Regions from separate parts of the Homo sapiens genome. Here region 1 is linked to region 2. Evidence: promoter capture Hi-C in human tissues and cell types (Jung and others, 2019). All regions are on one chromosome and are shown on one strand. Each heading gives the region's core, a stretch centred on a gene start or on the middle of the fragment in contact. The rest is flanking DNA. Distances are from core to core; before and after follow the strand shown. Region 1 overlaps TJAP1 (tight junction associated protein 1). Region 2 holds the start of DLK2 (delta like non-canonical Notch ligand 2).

Region 1 (4,901 bases), core at 776-3,275, 35 kb before region 2:
AGCGTAAGCCCTGGAACCAGGTGACCTGGCCTTGGTCCTGGGGATTGCTCATGAAGATCCCCACTCCTTGCACCATTAATACAGCCCCTCTCCCACTGACTCCCCATGAATAGCAGTCCCCCAGAGCAGTGGGCTGATCCCACCAAAACTGGGTTCGGCCTCGCCCACATCGTCTCCGGGGTACCCCTCCTGCTTGCCACCAGCCCCCAGTTTCCGGCATGCAGCTGTTCCTGAGATACATGAGTAAAGCCTTCAGCAATCCCGGGCGCGTGGCAGGCAGGCAGCCAACAGCTCATAGGGTGGGGACTGGGCAGAGGTTCTGCTCTGGGCTGAAGACAAGGCTAGAAGATGTCAGTCTGTGCCCAGACCAGCCCTGCTGCCCCTCCAACAGCTATGCCCGCCACCCCTCTGGGCAAGTACAACCTCACCCTCTTGGGACAAGTTGCCTGCAGCCCTGACCTGGCCCCCTGCCTACTCTAAACCAAACAGATTGACAGGGTTTTGAAAGCCAAAAAGAGTGGGAATTATTCTGCCCCAAAGCAATCCTGAGGACTCAGAACAGTGCTGGTGACCTGTGAGAGCTCATCTGGCTCCCACATGAGCAAACACTTCCAAGTCTATCCACCTGGCCTCACATCCAGACAAACACTTCACAGGAACAAGGGGCTAAAGAGCCAGGCAAACCAACCCCTCCCTGCAAAAAAAGAGGGCAAGAAATCCCCAAGGTCATAGCCTGCATTTGACATTAGACCCCATGCCCTCTCCTAAGAAAGGCCAAAGTGAAGGACCGGCCCTCAACCAGGCCTCAACTCCAGGCCCTTTTGCTTTCCTGGTCAGAGCCAAGTCAAGAAAGCCTCCAGCTTGTTAACTCCCCATTTGGGGTCCCTAAACATCTCTGCATTACTGCTAGTCCCCATGAATAATATATAGTACTATAAATGTTTATTTGTACATAGTACACTCATATATAATACATTATAAGCTCAATCCACATGCATATAAATAGGTATTGTTTATTCCTTAATCAACTATCATACATTCACTATTATTAATCATATAATAAAATTCATTTCCACATGGATATTGATCAGTACTATAAATCCTTAATATTGCATAGTACATATATTCATTTATTGGACGTAGTGCATTTTCATCAAGATATTTCTCATCGGGCCAGGCACAGTGGCTCATACCTGTAATCCCAACACTTTGGGAGGCCAAGGCGGGCAGATCACCTGAGGTCGGGAGTTCGAGACCAGCCTGACTAACATGGAGAAACCCCGTCTCTACTAAAAATACAAAATGAGCCGGGCGTGGTGGCGCATGCCTGTAATCCCAGCTACTCGGGAGGCTGAGGTAAGAGAATCGCTTAAACCTGGGAGGCGGAGGTTGCAGAAAGCCGAGATCGTGCCATTGCACTCCAGCCTGGGCAACAAGAGCGAAACTCTGTCTCAAAAAAAACCCAAAAAAACAAACAGATATTTCTGGTCAACATGGATATCCCCCACCAACTTTGGTCTCTTAATCTATCAACCTCCGAGAAATCATCATCCCGCTCAGGAGTGCTATCCTCCTCGCTCCGGGCCCATAACACACCCTCTCCCATTTACAAGCTCCCACCCAGTGCTGGTAGGCTGCTGCCTTCTCTCACCCAGCCCAAGGGGAACAGAATCCACTTAGGCAGCCTTCTGTTCTCAAGCTCCCCCTGTCCAGCCTCCCTAGCACCACACTGCCTCCGGAAGCCGAAGCCACAGTCTATCTAGAGTGACCTGTGTGGAACACCAGGAAACAACAGGCAATCAACTTTCTCATGATCTCCAGACCCGCCTCTCCTTCCCAAGCCTGGAGGGAGAAGGGACTGCGTGGGAGCTTCTCCAAGCCAGGCTGCACGCACCCATCTCCCAGTCTGAGGCCAGGACTTTTTCTGAGCCCAGTGTGGAATCCGAAGCCAGGTCCTGCCCCCACTCTACTGAGGCACCCTTCCCAGCTTTTCATGGCTAAAGTCCACCAGAAACTCCGGATGTGAAAAGAGGTGGGGGGGACAAACTTCACCTCCCAGAGCAACGGTCACCAATGGGAGTGACATCTCACATGGGTCCCTGGTTTGGGGCCCCAGCATTCAGTTTAAGTAGCTTCACTTTTCTGCCCAGGGAATTCCCCAGAACCAGGTCAAGGTTTTCCTCTACCTCCCCAATCCTAAAGAGAACCTTGCAGCTGATCCTAACTTCTTATCCTAGGGTGAGAGTAACAGGGACACTATCCAACCTTCCCTTCTTGATAAAGGGAGGAAATGATCTGATCTAGGAGAAAAGTCCCTTCCCACTCTAGTTCATCTGTCTCTGAGGCATGAGAAGCAGCAGCAGCATGGTAATTGAGGGATCTTCTCAAACTCTGTGCTAAAAGCACAGATTCAACAGAAACTCGAACCAATTCTGTATGAAGGGAGAAGTGAAGAGCACGCTGCTGACTCGGGGAAGGGTGACGGTGGGGGGTGGTCAGTGGAGCCCAGCAGCAGGCTGGTGATGGGCAGGTGGCCGTGAAGGGGGCACATCCCCACCCACAGCAAAGGGAGACTGGGAAAATAGAGGGACGCAGTAGTAAGAACAAGAGAGCAGAGGAGATGGCGTGATATAAGCTAAGGAGGGAGGCAGCCAGGCTGCGGGGAAGGATGGAGGACAGAGGCCCTGCTGGTGGCACCCCAGGGCAGGTTAGCTGGCTGAGGTCAGACTCACAGGGTTAGTGTCTTCTCCCCAACCAGCCAGCTCTCCTGGTTAGTGCAGTTAGCGACAGACTCATGGCAGATGCCCTCCAGGCACTCCATATAAACAGACAGCTTGGTTTGTGAGCAGCCCAACTCCGGAGCTGCAGAGAGAAAGCAGAGGAATGGCAAGCTGCAGGATGCCCAAGGGGACACACTGCACACTGCACTCTCCTGATGGGAAGCATCGCAGACTTACCACCAGACCCTCAGGGGCTTTCTCCCATCCGGAAACCATGCCAGATGGAAGCCAAGCACTCCCCCTGCCAACCAGGGAGGCCAGCTTGCTGACCTCAGGCAAAAAGCCTCTCTGGTTGGTCAACAGAAAGAGAGGACGGCTGTTGGAGAAGGGGCTCAGCTCCTCTATCTCGCCTGTTCCCCAAACACTGCTGCCAGGCTGCACCAGGACTCTGAAAGCTAGGCTGTAAGAACAAAGCCACCCACAGCTGCAGCTGCAACCCATCCCGCACCAGTGCCAGCAGAGTCCATCCCACCACCTCCCACAGGCTCTGAGGGGCTGGGAGAGAAGCAGCCCAAGGATTAGAGGCTATGACAAGGGCTGCGTCGGAAAGCACAGTACAATGGGGCAGTGTGTGCCTGGCCTACAGCTGGGCCAGTCAACAGCACGGGCTGCACACTGCCGCCTGGCCAGGGGTGGCACTTCCCAGGGAACCAGCCCCAGAGGAGCAACAGGGACTATTCTCCCCTCTCAGAACAAGCAACACGAGCAACAGAGCAAGAAGCTCTCCCATCAACGGCAGAAACAACTCTTCCATGAAGCCTCCAGACCACCCTGGGGGAAGTGACACCTCTAGCTCACAGACTGCAAGGCAAATGAGGCAAAAGCAGTGGCATTCCAGAGACCCCACAAGATGTGTCCCCTGGGGCGGGAGGACAGGACTGCAACACATATATCCACACCCACTGATGCTTAGCAGAGGGTAAGATGTTGGCAGGGAAAAGACAAGAGAGGGGTCCTCTCTCCTGTTCTAGGAAGCCCTGCAGGCTCTCTGATGACTCAGGGCAAAAAGGGAAGAGTCACCACCCTGGCCACAGAGGTGGGCCTGGCCTTTTCCCAAGCCTAGGATCAAGATTCACGCAGACAGGAAACACTTCCAATAATTGCCTACACACTGGGCTCCCCATGTTGCTCTGACTACAGCCCAAGAGCTCAAATAGGCCAAGGCCTGACTATGAAGATGAGACAACTGTCTAGAAAAAAAAGACAACAACTCTTCCGACAGGCCCTGACCCCTGCTCTAGACTGAGCACAGCCACTGACAGGTGACCTTCAGAATCCTCACCCACAAGAAAACAAAAACACCAACTGGGTCTGGTGTGCTTTTAAAAGAGCAGCAAGTGACATGGCTAATTCAAGGTTTCAGAAATCAGGGACTCTCACTGCACTAATATAGGATTTGAGAAATCAGATAATTTTTCTCTTTTCCAAGGCAAAAATGAAATGAGTGAAGGGGAGAGACACAGGTGAGATGGGAGTGCCAATGCCCACATCGCTGTTATATCCATCCTGATTCCCACTCAAGGACACTCCTGCCAATTTCATCTCAGAATAAAAAAATGTCCCTCAGAGACAGCCAGGGTGCCTGCTGTGGCAAGACCCTCTAGTAAAACTTCTCCATCCCTCCCAGGGAGCCAGCCCCAGAGGAACTCACTCGACTGGGAAGGAGGCTGTAACCAGGCTCCTCAGCGGCTCCAACAGGGACCATTCCACTCCTTGGTCACTTAAGTCAACAAAGAAAGCTGAAGAAGAGTCTGTATTAATATTGAGTTTTGGTGAGGAATGTCTAGACGTATAAAAAAAGCTATTAGAGGCCAGGTGCAGTGGCTCATGCCTGTAATCCCAGCACTTTGGGAAGCTGAGGCAGGCGGATCACCTGAGGTCAGGAATTCAAGACCAGCCTGGCCAACATGGTGAAACCCCCGTCTCTACTAAAAATACAAAAAATTAGCTGGGCGTGTTGGCTGGCGCCTATAATCCCAGCTACTCGGGAGGCTGAGGCAGGAGAATCGCTTGAACCTGGGAGGTGGAGGTTGCAGTGAGCCGAGATGGCACCATTGCACTCCAGCCTGGGTGACAAGAGCGAAACTCCATCTCAAAAAAAAAAAAAAAACTACTAGAAGG
Region 2 (4,930 bases), core at 2,364-4,863:
TTCCTTTTCTTTGAGATGGAGTCTTGCTCTTGTTGCCCAGGCTAGAGTGCAGTGGCATGATCTAGGCTCACCGCAACCTCTGCCTCCCAGGTGCAAGCGATTCTCCTGCCTCAGCCTCTCAAGTAGCTGGGATTAAAGGCAGGTGCCACCACGCCCGGCTAATTTTGTATTTTTAGTAGAGACAGGTTTTCTCCATGGTGGTGAGGCTGGTCTCGAACTCCTGACCTCAGGTGATCTGCCTGCCTTGGCCTCCCAAAGTGCTGGATTTACAGGCGTGAGCCACCGCGCCCAGCCAGTTTGCTTTCTTTTTTTTTTTTTTTTTGAGACGGAGTCTCGCTCTGTCACCCAGGCTGGAGTGCAGTGGTGCTATCTCGGCTCACTGCAAGCTCCGCCCCCTGGGTTCATGCCATTCTCCTGCCTCAGCCTCCCGAGTAGCTGGGACTACAGGCGCCTGCCACCACACCCAGCTAATTTTTTGTATTTTTAGTAGAGACGGGGCTTCACCGTGTTAGCCAGGATGGTCTCGATCTCCTGACCTCATGATCCTCTCACCTCAGCCTCCCAAAGTGTTGGGATTACAGGCGTGAGCCACCGCACCTGGCCTTTTTCTTTTTACTTTATTCTAAAAAAATGTTAGGCTGGGCACGGTGACTCATGCCTGTAACCCTAGCACTTTGGGAGGCCAAGGCCGGTGGACCACTTGGGGTCACTTCGAGACTAGCCGGGCCAACATGGCGAAACCCCGTCTCTACTGAAAATGCAAAAATTAACTGGGCAGGCCGAGGGCAGTGGCTCACGCCTGTGATCCCAGCACTTTGGGAGGCCAAGCGGGCAGATGACCTGAGGTCAGGAGTTGTAAACCAGCCTGGCCAACATGGCGAAACCCTGTCTCCACTACAAATACAAAAATTAGCCTGGCTTGGTGGGGGCGCGCCTGTAATCCCAGCTACTCGGGAGGCTGAGGCAGAAGAATTGCTTGAACCCGGGAGGCGGAGGTTGCAGTGAGCCAAGATGGAGCCATTGCACTTCAGCCTGGGTGACAGAGCGAGACCCTGTCTCAAAAAAAAAAAAAAAAAAAAAGAGTTAATTAAACAAACAGAATTTTAAAAAAATTTATTGAATACCTACTATGCCAGGCATTGTTTTAGACACTGGGGATGCTGTGATGAGCAAGAAAACATCCCAGACCTCTGGAGTTTGCTTTGTAGTGGGGAGATGGTCAATAAACAATAAATATTTAATATAATGTCAGATAATGATATCTGACAGAGAAAAGCACTGAAAGTCTCGAGAAAAAAAAATTAGCTGGGCGTGGTGGCGCTGTGCCTGCAATTCCAGCTATACTGGAGGCTGAGACGAGGTTGTACTGAGCTGAGGTTGCACTACTGCACTCCAGCCTGGGCGACAGAGTGATAATCTCAAGGAAAAACAAACAAACAACAACAAAAAACAAGTTATAGATGTTCATTGTTTAAAAAAAAAAAAAAAGGGGCGGGCGCGGTGGCTCACGCCTGTAATCCCAGCACTTTGGGAGGTCGAGGCGGGCGGATCACGAGGTCAGGAAATCAAGACCATCCTGGCTACCATGGTGAAACCCCGTCTTTACTAAAAATACAAAAAAAAATTAGCCGGGCGGGGTGGTGGGCGCCTGTAGTCCCAGCTACTTGGGACGTTGAGGCAGGAGAATGGCGTGAACCTGGGAGGCGGAGCTTGCAGAGAGCCGAGATAGCGCCACTGCACTCCAGCTTGGGCCACAAAGCGAGACTCCGTCTCAAAAAAAAAAAAAAAAAAAAAAAAAAAAGTGTTAATGCTGAAAAGTATTAATAAGAAAAAAAAAAAAACCTCTATAATTCGATCATCCAGAGAAAAGCACTGCCAATGTCAAAGTACGTTCTTCTTTGTTTCCGGCTTCCCCCCACCGCACTTTACATATTCTTAGCTTTTTTGGACATCTTTAGACGTCAAAAAAAAAAAAAAGTATTTTTAACAGTCACATAGTGTTGATGTGCCATAATTTATTTGCCTACAGTAATTTTTGAATTATAGGTTGTTTGCAATTTTTCACCAAAAAAAAAAATGTGTTTAAACAAAATGAATGGTACAGCCATGTCATTACTCAAATTCAGAGAGCTCTTCAGGGAAGAGGCGATCACAGCTGAGAGGAGGCCAGCTAGGGAGCTGAGTGGGTGTAAGTGTTATATCCAATGGAGACTGCAGGAAAAATGAGCCCTGGGGCTCTGTGCCTGTGGAGGTGGCTGTGTGAAGGTGGGAAGCTGCTCTGCCCCGACTAGCGACTGCTCCTTCCGATGTTTTGAATTTAAAGATGGTGAAATCTCAATCTGAAGGACTAGAGATGGGCGCTAGCGTTCCTGACCTCTGCCCTGTTGTCCTGCACAAACTAGAAATTATGTTCTGGGTCCTTGTCTTTTTTTGGGGGGGGGCGGGGGTCGGAGTTTTGCTCTGTCCCCCAAGCTGGAGTGCAGTGGCGCGATCTTGGCTAACTGCAACGTCTGCCTCCCGGGTTTTCAAGCGATTTTCCTGCCTCAGCCTTCCGAGTAGCTGGGATTACAGGCGCGCACCACCACGCCTGGCTAATTTCTGTATTTTTAATAGAGACGGGTTTCACCATGTTGGCCAGGCTGGTCTCGAACTCCTGACCTCAGGTGATCCGCCCGCCTCAGCCTCCCAAAGTGCTGGAATTATAGGCGTGAGCCCACCGAGCTTGGCTGGGTCCTTGTCTTGAAATGTGTCTCTGAGCCATTAGCCAGAAGGGGGCAAAGAGGCCTGGAGGGCAGCTTTCCCCCACTCCCCCTCCGTTACTCTCTGAATCTGAGCTCCAGGTTTGGGCAGTTGAGGTTTAGCCTGAGGCCAAGGACGAACGTGATGGGGTACAGGAGAAGACTTGGCGGTGGAGGGGGTTTTGTGTGCACATTTACAGAGTCAGGGGCATTCCCAGTCCAGAAAGGATTCTCAGAGGCAGTCACAAAAAGGAATGGGGTGGAAGGGCTGAGACTTGAGGGAGGGAAGGGTGGTGGGGGTAGGGCCGGGGTGTGGTTGGGTGGATCGGGTTGATATTTATATAGGGATAGGTTGATCTTGGAAGGCTGGAGACGGCAACGTGGACAGGAAGAAGCGGAGGGCGAGGAGGAGCAGAGGAGCACACAGATGAAGCAGGTGATGAAGGCTTTACAAGCGGGGAGGCGTGGGCTGGTGACAGGCGGAGGGCGGGGAGCGATTGCCTGCGTGTGCATAGATCTATATGAGAAGCGTGATGAGCGGCGGACAAGCGAAGGCAGGGCTGGGGCGTGGGCCGCGGAGCGCTGGTCGGGAAAGTGGGCATGGGAGATGAGAGAATAACGGGGTTGCGCTCCTTTGGCTTAATAGTTTGCTCCCATTGAGACTCCTAAGATTTCCTCCTCTCTTGGAAGGAAGCTGGGTTCGGGGCGTTGGGTAGCCGCGGAGGGCCGGGGCCCCGGGGCGCGCCGGGTGCTAGGTGTGCGCCGTGCGTCGCGGGGGGGGGGATGGGGGTGGGGGCGGGCTCCGCCCCTGGCAGGGGGCCTGAGCGCGCGCGAGGAGCAGCCGCTGCCGCCGCTCGGGGTCGCCTGGAGCCCCAGATTCCCGAGCGCTCGGCTCGCATGGCAGCCGCTTCGGCGCCCGGCCCCGCGGCCAGCTAGGGGCGGCCCCGCGCTCCCTCACGGCCCCTCGGCGGCGCCCGTCGGATCCGGCCTCTCTCTGCGCCCCGGGGCGCGCCACCTCCCCGCCGGAGGTGAGGACTGCGGGGACAGGGCGCGGTGGGGATTCCAGGCCCCGCGCCGCCGCCGAACCCAGCGCGGCGGAGATAGAAAGGGGACGTGGGAGAGAGTGGTGGTGGCGGGGGGGGGGGCTGTCGGAGCTGTGGGGCGGAGACTGCTCGCTGCCGGGAACCGTCCTTCCCTCCGGCCCCCGCGTCCCCTCCGTGCTCGAGGCCGCCTCTCGGCGCTGTCCCCATCCCGCGGACCCCTCCGTCCTGACTACGATCCCAACCCCAGCCATTCCCGCGCCTGGCCTCGCTCCGCGATGCCCATCTTTCCCCTCCTTGCAGACCCCGCTCCCGGGTTCCTGTCTTCGCTCTCCTCGCTCTCTTCGCCTGCTCAACCCTTCCCTGCCCCCATCCTCCCGCTACCCCCATCCCCTTCTTCTGTCCCGGCGCCCCTCTCCCTCGTCGGCTCCTGTCACTTGGAACCCGTATCCGTGCCGCTATCTCCGCGTCCGGCCGCCTCCCAACCGGTGCCGTCCCACAGGTGTCCACGCGTCCGGCCGTCCATCCGTCCGTCCCTCCTGGGGCCGGCGCTGACCATGCCCAGCGGCTGCCGCTGCCTGCATCTCGTGTGCCTGTTGTGCATTCTGGGGGCTCCCGGTCAGCCTGTCCGAGGTGAGCGCGCCCGCTGGGCTCCAGTCGCGGCCCTGTCCAGCCGTCCTCGCTTGCACGTTGACCTCTGCCGGCCGGAGGCGGCACTGCAGTCGCTCCGACCCGCGGGGCAAGCAAGACCGAGGTTGCCTTTTTGGAATGGGATGAGTTTCTGTGTTATGTCCTGCCCTAGGGTTGAGTCCGCTCAGTTACTGGAACCCCAATCCTCTCCTGAGTCCCGCATCCCAGCGAGCTGTGCCCTGACTCAGACTCACCCCTCCCACATCAATCTCTTGCAGCCGATGACTGCAGCTCCCACTGTGACCTGGCCCACGGCTGCTGTGCACCTGACGGCTCCTGCAGGTACCTGTCCTGAGCACGTGCCCCCAAACCCTTTGGTACCCATTTCTAAGCCCTTCACGTGCACAACAGTGTCTAGGGGCTTCAGACTCTACTCTTCATGCCTCATCACTCCTATGGCTGACTGGCCAGTCCCCCTTTCCCCTTTACCTCACCTCTCTTGCTTCTTCTAGTTTTTATCTC

The links. The method cuts DNA at HindIII sites, captures the fragments that hold promoters and counts their contacts. A contact is called where the count stands out against the background at its distance.
Region 1: a contact is called between a fragment that was not itself captured here and the fragment with the promoter of DLK2 in region 2, in 1 of the 25 tissues and cell types used here (neural progenitor cells).

The regions. Positions count from the first base shown.
Region 1 is chr6:43,487,860-43,492,760 of GRCh38, reverse strand. All of the region lies in intron 2 of TJAP1 (tight junction associated protein 1), which reads right to left. Among named protein-coding and RNA genes, the nearest start is that of TJAP1, 13 kb to the right of the region's middle. RefSeq lists enhancers at 1,930-2,524, 2,525-3,118. The HindIII fragment of the contact is 8,583 bases long and covers 1-4,901 here.
Region 2 is chr6:43,454,231-43,459,160 of GRCh38, reverse strand. DLK2 (delta like non-canonical Notch ligand 2) reads left to right here and starts at 3,613. Exons shown (of 6, transcript NM_023932.4): 1 at 3,613-3,766; 2 at 4,281-4,411; 3 at 4,687-4,750. The coding sequence starts at 4,336. RefSeq lists enhancers at 2,115-2,956, 4,585-4,634 and silencers at 3,555-3,794, 3,895-3,944, 3,975-4,054. The HindIII fragment of the contact is 12,339 bases long and covers 1-4,930 here.